Linked DNA regions of Homo sapiens: region 1 is linked to region 2. Evidence: promoter capture Hi-C in human tissues and cell types (Jung and others, 2019). All regions are on one chromosome and are shown on one strand. Each heading gives the region's core, a stretch centred on a gene start or on the middle of the fragment in contact. The rest is flanking DNA. Distances are from core to core; before and after follow the strand shown. Region 1 holds the start of DCD (dermcidin). Region 2 has its middle 13 kb from the start of PPP1R1A.

What was found. Contacts are between HindIII fragments. The study calls those that stand out against the background at their distance.
Region 1: a contact is called between the fragment with the promoter of DCD here and a fragment that was not itself captured in region 2, in 1 of the 25 tissues and cell types used here (hippocampus).

Annotation. Positions count from the first base shown.
Region 1 is chr12:54,645,630-54,653,163 of GRCh38, forward strand. It overlaps DCD (dermcidin), which reads right to left and starts at 2,736. Exons shown (of 5, transcript NM_053283.4): 1 at 2,617-2,736; 2 at 1,492-1,530; 3 at 1-78. The coding sequence starts at 2,674. The HindIII fragment of the contact is 4,939 bases long and covers 582-5,520 here.
Region 2 is chr12:54,597,467-54,604,875 of GRCh38, forward strand. No RefSeq gene overlaps it. Among named protein-coding and RNA genes, the nearest start is that of PPP1R1A, 13 kb to the left of the region's middle. The HindIII fragment of the contact is 4,642 bases long and covers 349-4,990 here.

The DNA of each region.
Region 1 (7,534 bases), core at 1,486-3,985, 48 kb after region 2:
TTGGCTTTGGTGCCTGTCTGGCTAACCCTGGGTCTTCACCTGCATTTTCCTTTTGAGCTGCTGATGCTTCATGGCAAGCTGCAAGGGTAAGGGAGTGAGAGGAATAATAGCTATTTCACTCTTTCCACCCTGGTCGGGGAGCAGGTGGTGCTTTTACCCCCTCAAGGTCTGGCTTGAGGATAGCTCCCTCTCTCCCAATTCCTCTAGAGCTTGACTTTCATGATGTGTTAGGTTCTTTAGCATCCCTCAAGCTTTTTCCTGCTGCCTCCAAGACTTTTCCTGCTCCTCCAGGGCCCTTTTCTAGAGTAGATTATGGTTCAGGGAAAAGTAAAGTCATTTTGGCAGAAAGATCACCTTAAAGAGACTCCCCCTAGTTTTCATCCCTTATACCAGCCCCCTAGTGTGGGGAGGTTTTGCAGAGGGCACTAGCTTCTCTCTTCTAGGCAGGTTGGTGGATGAGGACAGAAATTTGGCAGTCTCTGAAGGGGGCTTCTGTAGCTGTAAACAATCCATTTGTTTATCTGGAAAATCAAAACTTCTGTTATTGCATTGGTGTGAAACGCTCCAGGGGCATCTGAGAAGACACCAAGGTGCCCGGTGTTCCCTCTGGGCTTTATGTGAGAAGGCAGGGAGGGTGCAGGTGTGTGCTGTGGTTGGGGCTCGCAGTGCAGTGAAGATGTGCAGAAATACAGTTTATCTTTCTGCCGTTAATTATCCAGAGTGTGTACATGGCTGGGGAAGTAGAAATGAATGAGAATTAGATCTCTCTCTCAGGGGCTTACAGTCTAGGAAAAGAGACAAAACTGCTATATATGGGAAGCCCAGAAGAGGGAGGGATGAAAGGAGAGACTGGGACAGAGGCACCATACACACCAGGCAGGGAGGGCTTCAGAGAGCAGCTGGGACTTGAAGCTTGTTAGAGCACGGACAGGTAGGGGTTGAAAAGGTACCCAGGAAGAGGAACGTTGGGTAGTAGAAAGTTACTCATGCTGTCTGATGAAACAAATGTATAACGTTTGATGTGGAGAATGCAAGCAGTGGAGTCTAGGGAAATTATATTTGAAAAGTACCCTGGATCTAGATCATGGATACCCTGAATGTCAGGCTAGGAGGTGAGAGTTTCGTGATGAGAAATGGGAAACCACGTGAAAGGTTTTTGAATTGAAATTGTTGGTGAAGGTGGGGCAGATGAAAACCTCTGAACCCATCTAATGTGAAGTTCCTCCTCTTGCTCAAGAAAAGTATTCTTTTCTTTCCCATTTTTCTTACTCCACTTCTACTTCCAGACAGGGCCACCCTTTCCCCCATGCTCTGTCCTTCTCCAGTGCATGAGTCTCTCAGGAAGTCTCCCTTCTCCATGTCTCCTAAAAGTCGGCCTCCCAACTCTCCTTCCCCGGACCCCCCTTCTGCTTCTCTGACTTCCTCCACTCATATCCCAAGTCATTAACCCTCCCACCCAGGACTGGGGCAGGAGGAAGAGAAAGGACTCACGGTTCCCCGATCCTGGGGCAGAGGCGGCCTCTGGATCATCTGCAAAGGAGGGAACAGTGACCATGTCAAGTAGGGCACAGTTGCATGAGCTGTATCCAGCCAGGGCTGCCTAGAATTCCCAGGCCTCTAATCTCAGGAGTGTGGCAGTGGACAGACAGGAGAGAAATCTCTGCTTCACAAGGGGCCCACTAGAAATGCTTTTTGGTATCTCAACCAAATCCCTCTCTCTGTTATCCTCCCTAGACCTAGGCTACTCAGAACATCCCTATGGAAATGGAATCATTCTCTGACTCTCTTCTATGTCTTAGATGTCCAAGTTTCATAATGAAAGTTGAAGGGGCATGACCACGAGGGCATGACCACAGCACCTGCTCTAGTGACAGGGCAGGAGTTGTTCTGATTGTCACCTGATAGAATGACCTCAGAAGGACCTTCCCTCCATTTCTTTATTCTTCCAAAAGCATGAATGAAGCACGCATTATGCACCAGACATGGTGTTAGAGGCTAGAGATACAGCTGTGAGGAAGACAGACAGTGTAATTGCTCGGGGAAGCTGACAGTCAATGGGGGATTTGGAGGAATTAACATAATTACATAAACAATTATTTAATTACATTTGTGATAGTGCTAGGAAGGAAAAATACAGGAGGCAAGAAAATGCAAAATAGGGGCCAAAATGATTCTGGGGCTTCAGCAAGCCTGCTGTGAGGAAATACATGGACACAGAGAGCTAGCAGGGCGGACACTTGGAAATTGAGTAGGAAGGAGGTTGACGTGGGTGGGTGAAATAATGGGCAGGGGAAAAGACAAGAGGATGTGCAAAAGTCTTGGCAGTGGGAAATGGCTTGGTTCATTGAGGGGAAAAAGAATGCCAGAGTGGTTGGAGCAGAGTGGGCCAATCACAGACTGAGAGGAGAGGCAATGGAGAGCCAGGCTGGGGCCACAGGGCTCCTGGCTTCCTCTGACCATAGAGTCCCTGTGTGGAGAACCTAGTGGGAGGCAGGAGTGGGCTACAGAGACAGACTTGGGTGAACTGCCTCTGGCGAGGAGGGGAAGGGGAAATGAAGGCAGGGCCCAGTCTTCAGGGGACTATATGGTTGGGTGTCGGGGAAGAGCCATACTCACAGGCACAGACCAGGGCTCCTGCCAGAGCTGTCAGGAAGAGGAGAGTCATGAACCTCATGCTTCTGTGTGCTGGAGTGGGTATGCCACCAAATCCTTGGAGATCTTGGGATCTAGGGTGTCAAGACTGCCTCTCTGGGCCTTTTTTTAAGCATGACAGGGACCAATGGGAACCAGTCTTCCAGTGGTGTGTTCTCCTCCTCCTCTTCTCCCACCTCAGAGCCACCTGTTAAGTCAACAAAGGCTGGCTGGGGCTGGCTGGTGCCCGCCTTCCCTGCAGGTAGGTCCTGGACAGCAGCTCTGGAGTTGGCACTGTCCTGACTGGCATCCTTTTCCTGCCTCTCCCCTTCCCATCTCGCTTGTCCCTGGGCTCCCATCTCTGATTGCATCTGGGGTCCTGGGGAAGACTGTGAGAGGTTTCTGGAGAGGGCCCTGGCAGGAGGGCTGTGCCCAGAAGGCTCTCCTTCCACCTGGAAACAGAAGGGGGGCCCAAGATGTCAGATCCAGCCTCCTTAGGAGAGAGTGGGGGTGGCTGAGGCTTCCCTTGAGTGGGTTAAGCCCACCCTAGGGGGCTGCCCTCACAGCATTTGGGGATCCCACCTGACTAAGGTCCAGAGAGGCTGATGTCCTCTCTAGGGGTCTCCATGTGGTAACCAGAGCTTCCCAGCCTCAGTAGGCCCTGACCAGGGTGTCTTCAGTCCCAGCTAATGATCCTCTACCCCAGAAAATTCTCCTGGTAAGTTAACCAGAATATGAAGTCAGTTCCCAGTTTGCCCTTCATATAGGGGAGGGAGGCCAGTGGTGTGGATAATCCAGAGAAGTGGAGAATCCAAAGGTGCTTCTCTCTGCCTCAGAATCCCTTCCTGCGGACTTGTGTTTTCTTCGAAATGGCAGAAAGTCCTGGAGATGTGGGTTTATGACTCGATTTTGTTGTTTACTAGCTGTGTGGCCTTCAGAGAGGCAATTTACCTGCCCCACTTCAATTGTTTTTCTTTCTTCTTTTATTTTATGGTAATATTTAAGGTGTAACATGAAGTTTTGATATACATGTATTTAGTGAAATGGTTACTATAATCAAGCAAATGAACACATCCATGATTTTACATAATTAGCCTTTTGTGTGTGTGTCTCTCTGTATGTGTGTGTGTGTGTGTGTGTGTATGTGTAAGAGCACCCAAAATCTGCTCTTCCAGCAAAAATCCCAAATTCAATACAGTATTATTGACTCCAGCTCTTGTGTTCCACTTCAGCTGTTTTGCATTTGATGGTGAGAAATGATCATTTTAATCCTACAGGTTTCGTGTGAGGAATACATGTGTCAAAACTGGTCAGCTCCCTCCTCCATCTATTCCAGACCCAAGCTGGGGAGCTGAGGATAACTTGGAACCTTAGTTTCTGCTCCTCACAAAGCCAGTTACTTCCTTGAGATGTCTTCTCTCCACGGAGTGGAGCCTGCCCTTGCCCTGTTCCTGGGACCTTGGTGAAAATGGACTGAGATTTGTTTCCTGAGGTGCTCTGTCTGTGCCAGACACCGTGTTGGACCCAGACAGATAAAGATGAGTAGACTGTGGTCTTGCCTTGAGGGGATACACAGTAGGCAAGGATCTCAGACAGATGAAGGGACAATTGATGGTAGCAGGGGACTCTGTCCTGGTAGACAAAGCATGCTCTTCCTAGCCTATGGGATTGAAGCAAAGTTGTGCTCCACCACTTAGAGGCTGAATGATTTTGGCATGTCACATAATCTCTCTGACTCTCATCTCCACAGTGTGACCCAGGGTACTTGTGAAATTCGAACAGGAATAGCTCAGATCCACTTTCTGGGTCAACTTTCTGGGGCTCTTCCCTGTTCTCTGGATGTCTACCTCTCACCTCCATGGGAACTCAGTCCATCTGAGCTCTCACCATCTCTCCTGTTGTGTGGTTCATTGTGAGACTTTCTTGGCTTTTTTCCTTCAACATACAGACATCTTAAAAATAAGCAAAATGTTCCCTTTATACTCTCCCTATCTAGCTTCTTTCCAATCCTTCTGCAACCAAGCTTTTTGAAAACAACTCCATTTTTTTTTTGGCCTCAACATCCGTGTTTTGCTTTATGTTCTTATCACCCTGTAATGTTTGCACCACCATCCCTGGAACCGAGATACATCCTTGCCAAGGTACTCGGATACAGTCGCCACTTTTCAGCCTTTATCTTATCTGATCTCGGTGGGCTCTGACACTGTTAGAGCCACTCATCTTTTGAGGTGCTGGGGTTTTCTTTCTTTCTCTCCTTTTTTGGGCCACCCTTCAGTCCCACTTTGACTCACCTTGCCTGCCCCTTTGATATTCTCCAGTGTTCTATTCTTAGCCTTTTTCTTCTCTCCTCTTACAAACTCTCCTGTGTGACTCATTCTTGGAGTCACACTTCCTGGCTCCCACATCTTCATTCCGGCCCAGACCTCTCTCCTGAACACTAATATCCACTAATGGATGGGCAGTAATGCACTGATGAACCCTAGGGGTTGCAACTGGCCTCACCTACGTTCCCCACATCTTCCCCATCACCTGCTCCTCCTCCTGCACCATTTTCCATTCTGATTAACAGTATTGACATTCACCCAGTTATCTAAATAGAGATCTGAGAGTAATTTTACATTTTTCCTCCTCTTGGCCCCCTATGTACAAGGACACCGGGGTCTATGAAGTTCTGCCTCTTTGTCAATCCCAGGGCTCTGGCTCAGAAGCCTCTGCCTGGGGGCCTTGCCATTTTTTATGTTCACTGAAGAAACAGCTTCACAAATGGTTTTCCCTCTGACAGTCTCAAGTTCAAACTCCCAGCTGTCTAAGTGATTTATAGTAGACAAACTATGTGCAGAGCACACACCATCTTTCATGAGCTGGCTTCTGTCCGTCCCTTCAGTTTCAACCCTTCTCATTCCCTCATCAAGACTCTGCCTCAGTCACATTAAATTTCTTTCAGTTTCTTGCATAGATTTAATTTTTTCTTGCTTCTGCCTCTTCACGTATTTTCCTCCGTGTATTGTCTTTAATGCCCTCCTACGATTAGATGACAGAGCTTTTTCCTACTCATCCTTTAAGATTCAGATCAGAAATACCTTCTTCCTGGAAGATTTTCTTTTTTTCTTTTCTTTTTTCTTGAGACGGAGTCACGCTCTGTCACCAGGCTGGAGTGCAGTGGTGCAATCTCAGCTCATTGCAACCTCCGCCTCCCAGGTTCAAGCGATTCTCCTGCCTCAGCCTCTCAAGTAGCTGGGACTACAGGCACCCACCACCACCCCTGGCTAATTTTTGTAGTTTTAGTAGAGATGGGGTTTCACCATGTTGGCCAGGATGGTCTTGATGGTCTCGATGTCTTGACCTCGTGATCCGCTCACCTCGGCTCCCAAAGTGCTGCAGTTACAGGCTTGAGCCAGTGGGCCCAGCCCCTGGAAGATTTTCTGGGCATTCTTCTTGTCTTCCTTCCTCTCCCCACCAAAGTGAAGTCAGAGTTCTGGGCTATGCACTTCCACCAGCCCCTTGCTCTTCTCTTTATCTGTGCATCACCTCGATGGTATTGGGATTGTCTGTTTAGTGCTTGGTTTTCCACACTAGACTTCAGCTGTGCAGTGCAGGACCATGTTTAATTTGTCTGTGCACCCCAGCCCCAGTGAGGATGCCAGACACACAGTTAGAATGCAGTAACTTTTGGTGAAGTGCAGCTAGAAACCTACAAGTGAGTGGGGCTAGAAACCTTCAGAATTTGGGCAAGAGATGTGGACTGGTGGATAAAGCTTAGATTAGACTAATAACATTAATCTGTTGGAAAGAGATATGCCAAGCTGCTTTTTAAGAAACTATTTAATATTTGTTTGTAGTTTTTTTCTTTGAGGTAAAACTTACATACAATGAAACTATACAATGAAACATACATATTAACTGTATTTTTTCGTCTTGTCAAATGCATCTACTGATGTAACCCAGACTCCAATCAAGATATGAAGCATTACCAGTAACCCAGAAAATTTCCTCCTGCCTTTTCCCAGGTGATACCTGCCCCAGCTCCTAGAGGCAAGCTGAACTGCTTTTTAAATACACTCTTTTTTTATTTTAAGAGACAGGATCTTGCTCTGTGATCCAGGCTGGAGTGTAGAGATGCCATCATAGCTCACTGCACCCTCAAACTTCTGGGCTCAAGCGATCCTCTCGCTTCAGTTTCTCAATTTAATGCACTCATTGCTGGAATATCTGTGGGGTTTATTCAACCCTAGCTTGATAGCTTTCTTTCTCTGTCTTGTAATGTGGGCTTATGCCTGTAGAAACCTGACAATTCAGGCCATAGAAGCATCCTTGGGTCAGGAAAGAGAGCTTGCATGTTTTCAAAGGTGTGGAGAGTCTCTTTGGTGTTCCGTGGTGAAAAGAGTCAGCACTGGGCCTTCAATTTTCATGCACTTCATCGAGTGATTCCCCAGGAAGGGCCCAGAAGAAAGATTAAGATATGGGGAATACTTGCCTTTGGACAGAATCCGTTTCTGTTTAACTGATGTCTTCCAGCTGGTTCCTCAGAAAGAAAAGGTCAGGTAGGTTCAGAAGTCCAGTGTGGGAATAATGTGGTTAAGAGTTGGGAGTCAGGAGGTGAATTAAGTCTAATATCAAAGGTGGGCAGTGGAGATCTGTGCAGGGCAAGGAGAATTCAGAGAAAGGTAGGCAGGGGCTTCATTCATTTTGCAGGTACTGGGTACTGGCATCTGAGGGATAAGTATGAGTTGGTATCCACCCTCATGGAGCTCATAGTCTCGGCTTGGAAATAAAGTTATGCTAAATAATTCGATATTAATATGACCCATAAAGGAGTACCTAGAAGGGAAAAATGAAGGTCTGAAGCAGTTCAGGGATGTTGAGAAGAGGGGAAACGTTAGAGGAAGCACTCAGGGGCATTATG
Region 2 (7,409 bases), core at 1,420-3,919:
GAAAAGAAGATTCGATGTTGTGTAGCCGGGTGGGTGAGCTTGGCATAATAGAGGGAGTGAGAGCATGGGCTTTGGATGGAGTCAGTCCGGCCTTGGAACAAATCCTGATTCTTCCAATACTCCAGTGACCTTGGGCTGGTTGCTTTACTTCTCTGATCTTATTTCCTTATCGAAGAAATAGGAATAATAATAATTCCTACATCTTAGAGATGTTTCAAGTATTGAATGGGATAATATACACAAAACTCTTAGCACACTTCCTTGTTAGTTCTCATTAAATGGTATTATTTATTATTAAAATGATTGTCTTTAGATGTTTTAAGGGTTGTCATGTGGAAATAAGAACCCACGTACCTGTGCTGCTCCACCAGGCTGAACAAGTTAGAGGGAGACAAGTTTGACTGGCAGGGAGGCAGAAGGCCCCATCTAAGCCACCAGGGCCTGGAGGAAGCTACCTTATGCAGAAGGAGTTCTCTGCTGATGGAGGGATCCAGGCAAAAACTGTCTGGGGGCTCTTTCCAAATCAATGCTTCAGAATCCTGGGTTGTTCTGAAATTATGCATCAGTCTATAAGTGAAAGATTCTGTGATTCCACTTGAAGGAAAAGGGCCCCTGGGACAGGAGAGAAGGAGCTAACAGGAGAAAGAATAAGTGCTTTGCTAATCTAGAGCCTTATAATCTGAGGCCTCAACTGTTCTGTCTCCTTGGGTAAGGGAGGACTTGCGGAGGGCTCTATGGAGGCTGTCCTGACCCTCTTCCTACCCCCCTGTGAAGGAACTCCATATTCTGTGTAGGAAGTTTGGGAGTGAAGGGGGACATTGTTTTTTTGATAAGACCCTTTCCCACCCCCTATAAAAGAAAGTCCCCATTTTGGAGTCCCCCTACCTGAACATGTGTTGAGAAGGCCTTTCTGCGCTATAGCTTCAGGCTTCTTTACTTCAGGCTTCTTCACTTCAGGCTTCCTCACTTCAGGCTTCCTCTGATGCTGGGTTAGGTTCTGTGGGCAGGTGATCTTCTCCTCACTTCTTCAGGAATCCTGTAGAGGTGAGCGGGGAGAGCACTGGGCTTTTGAGCAAGAAGGCTTCTCAGCCCCTCCCAGCATCCTTTTCTTCTAACCACTCTGGGAAAAGGTGACCCTTATCGGCTGCCCCATCCCTGTGCCCATTTCCATTAGAGGGGAGGACTTTGCTCCCTACCTCACACGGGGGTGGGTGTCAGAGTGAACCCTTCTAGCCTCTCGCTGTTCCTTACTTGCTCTTTTCTAGGAAAAAAAAAGTAGCTAATTTTACTGATCATTCATTCATTTGTTTATTCAATTCACTCATGAATTCAATTCAAATTCATTCATCGAACTTCAACTCTTTGCCCAGTAATTACTGTTCAAGGTACTGGAGAGAAAATAGTGAATAATAATGATTGATACGTTCCCAGGTTTCATGGAGCTTACATTTTTGTGAGGTAAAAAAGTATATAAACAAGTGAATAAATGTAAAAGTAGGAACATTTCAGAGCATAGGAAATGCAATGAGGGGAATAAACAAGGCGAGGTGACAGAAGTAACTGGGGGGAGGATGGGTGGGAGTGGCCAGGGAAGCTCTCTGATAAGATGACATTTGAACCAAGACCTGAAGGGTGAGAGGGAGTCAGCTATGCAGACAGCAAGAGGAAGAGGATTCTAAGCAGAGTGAACAAGGATGAAACTGGGAAAGAGGCTGGTGTGTCCAAGGACCGTGAAGGGCGCCAGCATGGTCACGCTGTATTGGGCAGGAGAGCGGAATGAGATGAGGTTGGGGGGATATTTGGAAGCCAGACCACACAGGGCCTTGTAGACCCTGCTAGAGAGTTTGGATTTTATTTGAAGTGTAATGGGAACCACCTGATAATTTTAAGGAGCAGACCTGATCTGATATATACTTTGAAAAGACCACTTGTCTAGTTACTGACGGAGCCTGGATTGTATGGGCTTAGAGTGGAGGCAGAGAGCTTACTCAGAAAGCCATTGCAGAGGTTCAGGTGGTCAACAGTGGAAGTGGAAACAGGGTGGTGGCAGAGAGATGGGGAGAGAGGGGTGAAGTCAGGATATATTTCAGAGATAGAATCTGTAGGCTTGTTGGTGAATTAATTGTGGGGATTGAGGGAAAGGCAGAAATCAAGATTGACTCTTAGGTTTTTGGTTTGACTAATTGAGTATATGGGGGTGATACTTAACGAGACAGGAAGATGAGATGAAGAGGTCTATTAAGGCATTAGTCCAGGGGTAGTAACAAGATTGTAATGGCATGGCTTCAACAGAACAGAAGTTAAACAGAGATAATATGGTGGCTCCACAATATTCTGGACATTCTATCTCGTTACCCTTTCTTTTCAATATGTAGCTTCCATTTAGTGGCCTAAGAGGGCTGCTCTAGCTCCCATGCCTTTATCTCATTCCAGTCAGCGTGAAGGATTTAGAAAGGAGAAAGGGAGGACACACTCTTTCTGTCAAGGGCACCACCTGTCATTTGCCCTTATTGTATTTGTTCATATCCTCCTGTCCAAAACCTAGTCACTTGGCCACATCTGTCTGTAAGGAAGCTTGGGAAATGAAGTTATTAGCTACATGGAAAAAATGGCAGGGTCAGTGAATCGGAGGTCTGGATCAGGTCAAAGAATTGTTACAACTGGACTTCTACTGTAATGGAGATGGAAGGGCAGGAAATTGTGGCCAGACGTGGGATTCTTGAATTTAGGATTTTGGAAGTGGCTGTGGTGGCGCGTAGGCTGAGGTACAAAGGTTAAGAACTGAGAAGTCAGAGTGTTGGGGGGTCATCGGCATGAACACTGACAGTCCTCAAAAAAGGACAGGAGCAAGTGGGAAGAGGAAGACCAGGTGCTGAGGTTAGGGGCTCCCTGTAAGGGAGAGGGGTTGGTAGGAGGGCGCAGCATGTATTCTGAGCTTCAAAGAAGGGGAGATTTTGGAGTAGAACGGAAGAGGAATGGTTTAGAAGTGGCAGTGGAGAACAAGGAGGAAAATCCTTCTTCCCACCTTCGGATTCTGAGGCGGTTGGTGGCTAAAGGAGAAAGCAGTTTCCACTTGAGAGTGAAATAGAGGTTGTCAGAGTCTCAGAAAATCTGAAATTATTATTATTATTATTTTTTAAAGGACAGGTTCTTACTCTCTCACCCAGGCTGGAGTACAGTGGCATGATTGTAGCTCACTGCAGCCTTGAACTCCTGGGCTTAAGTGATCCTCCCACCTCAGCCTCTGAAGTAGCTGGGGCTACAGGCACGTGCCACCATGCCCAGCTAATTGTTTTTATTTTAGAGACAGGGTCTTGCTATGTTGCCTAGTCTGGTCTTGAAAACCTAGCCTCAAGCGTTCCTCCCACCTTGGCCTCCCAAAGCTCTAGAATTACAGGCATGAGCCACCACACCTGGCCTTAAAATGTTATTTTAGATTAGGCAATATCAGTTGAAAGATGGGAGAAGAAAGAAGAAAAAACGGGTATCAGTTGAAAGTTGGGAGAAGAAAGAAAAAAAAGGGAGATTAAGCAATAGAGAGAAAATTCAAAACAAGACATTGGGAATACCAAGGAATTTACTGACCACTGATCAGGAGTTCTAGAGGGCATAGTAAAAGGGTTTGGCAGAGAGAGACTGGGCAGAGAGAATTGGGCTAGATTTGGGGCTGACAGAGCCAAACAGGGTAGGGGTTCTGGATGACAAATATATCTGAAAGCTTTGGCTTGGTCCTGGAAGTGACTGTGGTCAACAGAGAGACAGAACCCAAGGATCTTGGTTGCCCACCTTTCTACAAGAGGAATCAGGACAAGGAATAGACCTTGGTGCCTACCTGAATGGTTTCAAGGCCTTTGGTGACTGATTCCTATGGCTTAAGGGGGGATGTGAGTGGTGGCTAATCCCATGGGAGATGTGTGGGAGCAGAATAACTAATGGCCCCACAAAGAGGTCCACGTCGGAAATCACAGAACCTGTAAGTGTGTTGGGTTACACTGGCAACAGAGAATTAAGGTTGCAGATTGAACTGAGGTTGCTAATCAGCTGGTCTTAAAATAGGGAAATTCTCCTAGATTATCTGGGTGGGCCTGGTATAATCTCAAGCATCCCTAAATGTGGACAAAGGATTCCAAAGAGATAACTAGACTGATGGCAGGGTGAGAAGCCTTGGCCGGATGGGGCTGGCTTTGAAAATGGAGGAATGGGGCCATGGGCCAAAGACTGTGGACAGCCTTTAGAAGCTGGAAAGGGCAAGGAAATGAATTCTCCCCTAGAGACTCCAGAAAGGAACGCAGCCCTGCCTGCTGACATGCCTTGATTTTAGCCCAGTGAGACCCATCTGGAACTCCTGAACTACAGAACTGTAAAATAATTAATTTGTGTTGTTTTAAGCTGGTAAATTTGTGGTAATTTGTAATTAGAAAACTAATACAAGATGAAAGGCTCTCTTCTGGGTGACTGCTCCTTCCCACAGGGTGAGATGCTATGACAGCTGGTGAGACAGAACATTTATTACACCACGTTTCACCAGGGGGCGGAGTTAATGCATCAACAGGAATGTTCCTCAACAGCTTTGCCTCTTTCCCTCCTGCCCTCTCTCATGAGGGTGCACACTTGGACAGGACTTCACCTTCCCACCTCTTCCCTGGGGGATGCATGCTGTTTCTCTCACCGTTTAGTGGCTCAGGCAGGACAGAGAGAAGGCCCCTTTTGGGCTTGTGTCTCGATAGCATTCTCCAGCTCAGCCTTGCCAGAGAGGTCAGAGTGCTGTGGGTTCCCCGGCACTTGTCTGGCTGTTAATACAATCGATGTTTTGGTTTCCTTTTTGCTCCTTGTTCTCTGGACACCTTCTCCATTGGCCAGACTCAGAGGGGCAGAGGGATGACGTGCTGGTGGCCCTCCCTGGAGCTGTGATGGTGAAGTCAAAGACTGGCCTTGGGGGACCCAAATACAGTGGATTTTAACAGCAAACACTCTAAAGGTAACTCTGACCTGCAGCTGCGTGGGTGCAGCTGAGGCTGGAATGAAATTATCCCAATTCCACTTGGGTACAGAGCATAAGGCTGTGAAATTTTGGCTTCAGATGATGTGTGTTAATATTTAGTAGGTGATGCTAGGTTGGCTGTCCAACTGATTGTCTAGTTTGGTTTCTTTTATGTTGTTGTTCACTTTTTTCCTAGTTTTCATTTAACACGTTTCTCTTGTTCTTTTTTCTCACCCACAGATGCAGGTCCCAATGTGTGCTTTGTTTTGAACTGCATTTAGGGTGGCAGGAAGACTCAGGAGGGATTTTGTTTATGGCCTGATCACAGGCTCCTGGGATTATTTCCTACCACGTAGTCTCAAAGTGGCTTGGGGTTGTACATTTATGAAGCTCCAGCCAGGGTTTCAGATTTCAGAGTCCCACTGTGGGATTAACCACAGAGGTGTGGTCGACTTCATACAGATAAAAATAATGGGATCCTTTATGTGGAGGAAATGTCACTGGGTGAAAGTGAAGAAAAACTCCATGGAATTACTATAAACTTGAAGAGTATGGGAGAAATGAACAAGTCCTGTACCTGGAAAACTCTTTAGAAATCATATTTTCCTAAGAATCAGGGAAACGTGGGGTTCATATAAGGTACAAGTCTTGGTCTTATAGTGAGACAAGTCAGACAGAAAGGGAAAAGAAAAAAGAGGGCAGTTCTGTTGATTGAGTTGGGAGAAAAGATGAGATTTTCTCAGGAGAAAGTTTGAGTTCATAGAGCCCATGCTTGAGATACATTAAAAGAGAAGGGAAATGGCTCTATGCCTAGATAGTTTTAAGGATGGAACTAGAAGAGAGCAGAATATTTATTTATTTCTAGATCACGGAGGGTGAATGGGGCCTGGAGAGATTTAACAACGATGCAAAACAGTTTGAGGCCGCTAGAGGGAGCGTTGACCCAGTCACTTGCACAGAGTGAGGGAAGACGAACAGGAAGTTTAGTGGTGAAACATTATTAGGTAAGTTTCAAAGGAATGCAGGTTTTTTTTTTTTTTAATGGGGGTTTGGGGGCTGTTATTGCCCATGTCCTGAGGAAGCATGCCACAGAATTACTGAGAAGATGAAATACACTCTAAAGGGAATTCATGCGTGAAATAAATAGATCTAGTCACGTCTGAGATTCTATGTTTTCTAAAAATTTTTAATTTTTTAATTGACAAATCATAGTTGTATACATTTAAGGGGTACAATGTGATGTTTCGATATATGTATACATTGTGGTATGATTGAATCAAGCTTAAACTTCTAAATATCATAAGATGATAGAAATATCCTAAGCCCCCACTTTGAAAGAAGAGGCTGTATACATGACCCCACCCTCTGAAGGCAAACTTAATGCCAACATTAGTCACTCCACGAGAGATTTCTCCCACTTGTGAAGTCAAGGCTTTCTCTCTTCTTGCAGATACCACTTAGTTTCTGCCACAGTATGATGCTGGCATTAGCCATGGGATTCCTGCACAGCTCAAGTGCCCCATGTGTCTTTTGAGCCTTGAGGAGGAGACTGACATGGAGATGCCTTGCCATCCCCTCTTCCAACGCAACTGAACCTTCCCTGGTTAAGCAAGACAAATTCCTCCCGCTATGCTGCCGTGAGCTGCTCACTGATAATGACATGTAGGAGGAACACAGATGAGATGAGGCCCACAAGCAGCAGCAGAAGTGTGGCTGGAGAACCTGCATGGAGCCAGGTATACCTGAGGCACTGCGGCTGAGCGCTGGCCCTCCATGACATCTCTCTCTGCACCTTGAACCTGTGTAGAAGGTTTTTTTCTTCCACCTTCTACCCCTGCAAAACAAACAAACAAACAAACAAACAAACAAAACAACCCTTAAAAGCCCCACAAAAAACCATGCACTAGGGCCTGGGCACATAATTGCTCTGGGGCCTGAGAATGTGCTTGTGTTTCTGAGTTTGGTTGGTGCAGAGCTGGTGCATGGTATTTCGTGTATCCTAGTTACTCTAACTTTGAAAAGGAGGGACCCATGAGCTCCTTGGGGTTGGATTAAGTCAACCTTGTAGATGCCAGAGGAACTACTCACATTTCAGGGGGAAAAAGACCAGGAGGGAGCCAGTCCCCTGCCTCCAGGCATAGCAGCCTTTCCCCTGACTCCCAGGGAACATGCCCCATGCTGGTGGCTCTGTGTCCTCCTCATCCTCTACAGATTTGTGAGGCTTCACCATGATCCTTCTTGTAGTCACACCTTAGAGACCTAGGCGGTGGCTCACCCCGGGCCAGAGAGAGGATGGAGACGCAGGTACCTAACCCTATCTCCACATTGGGAAGCTAAAGTGATAGGGAGAGTGTGTGTACCCCCCCCTTTCTCTTCCAGATCTTATTCTACCAAACAGCTGGAGCAACAAAAATGACAAAAACCACTC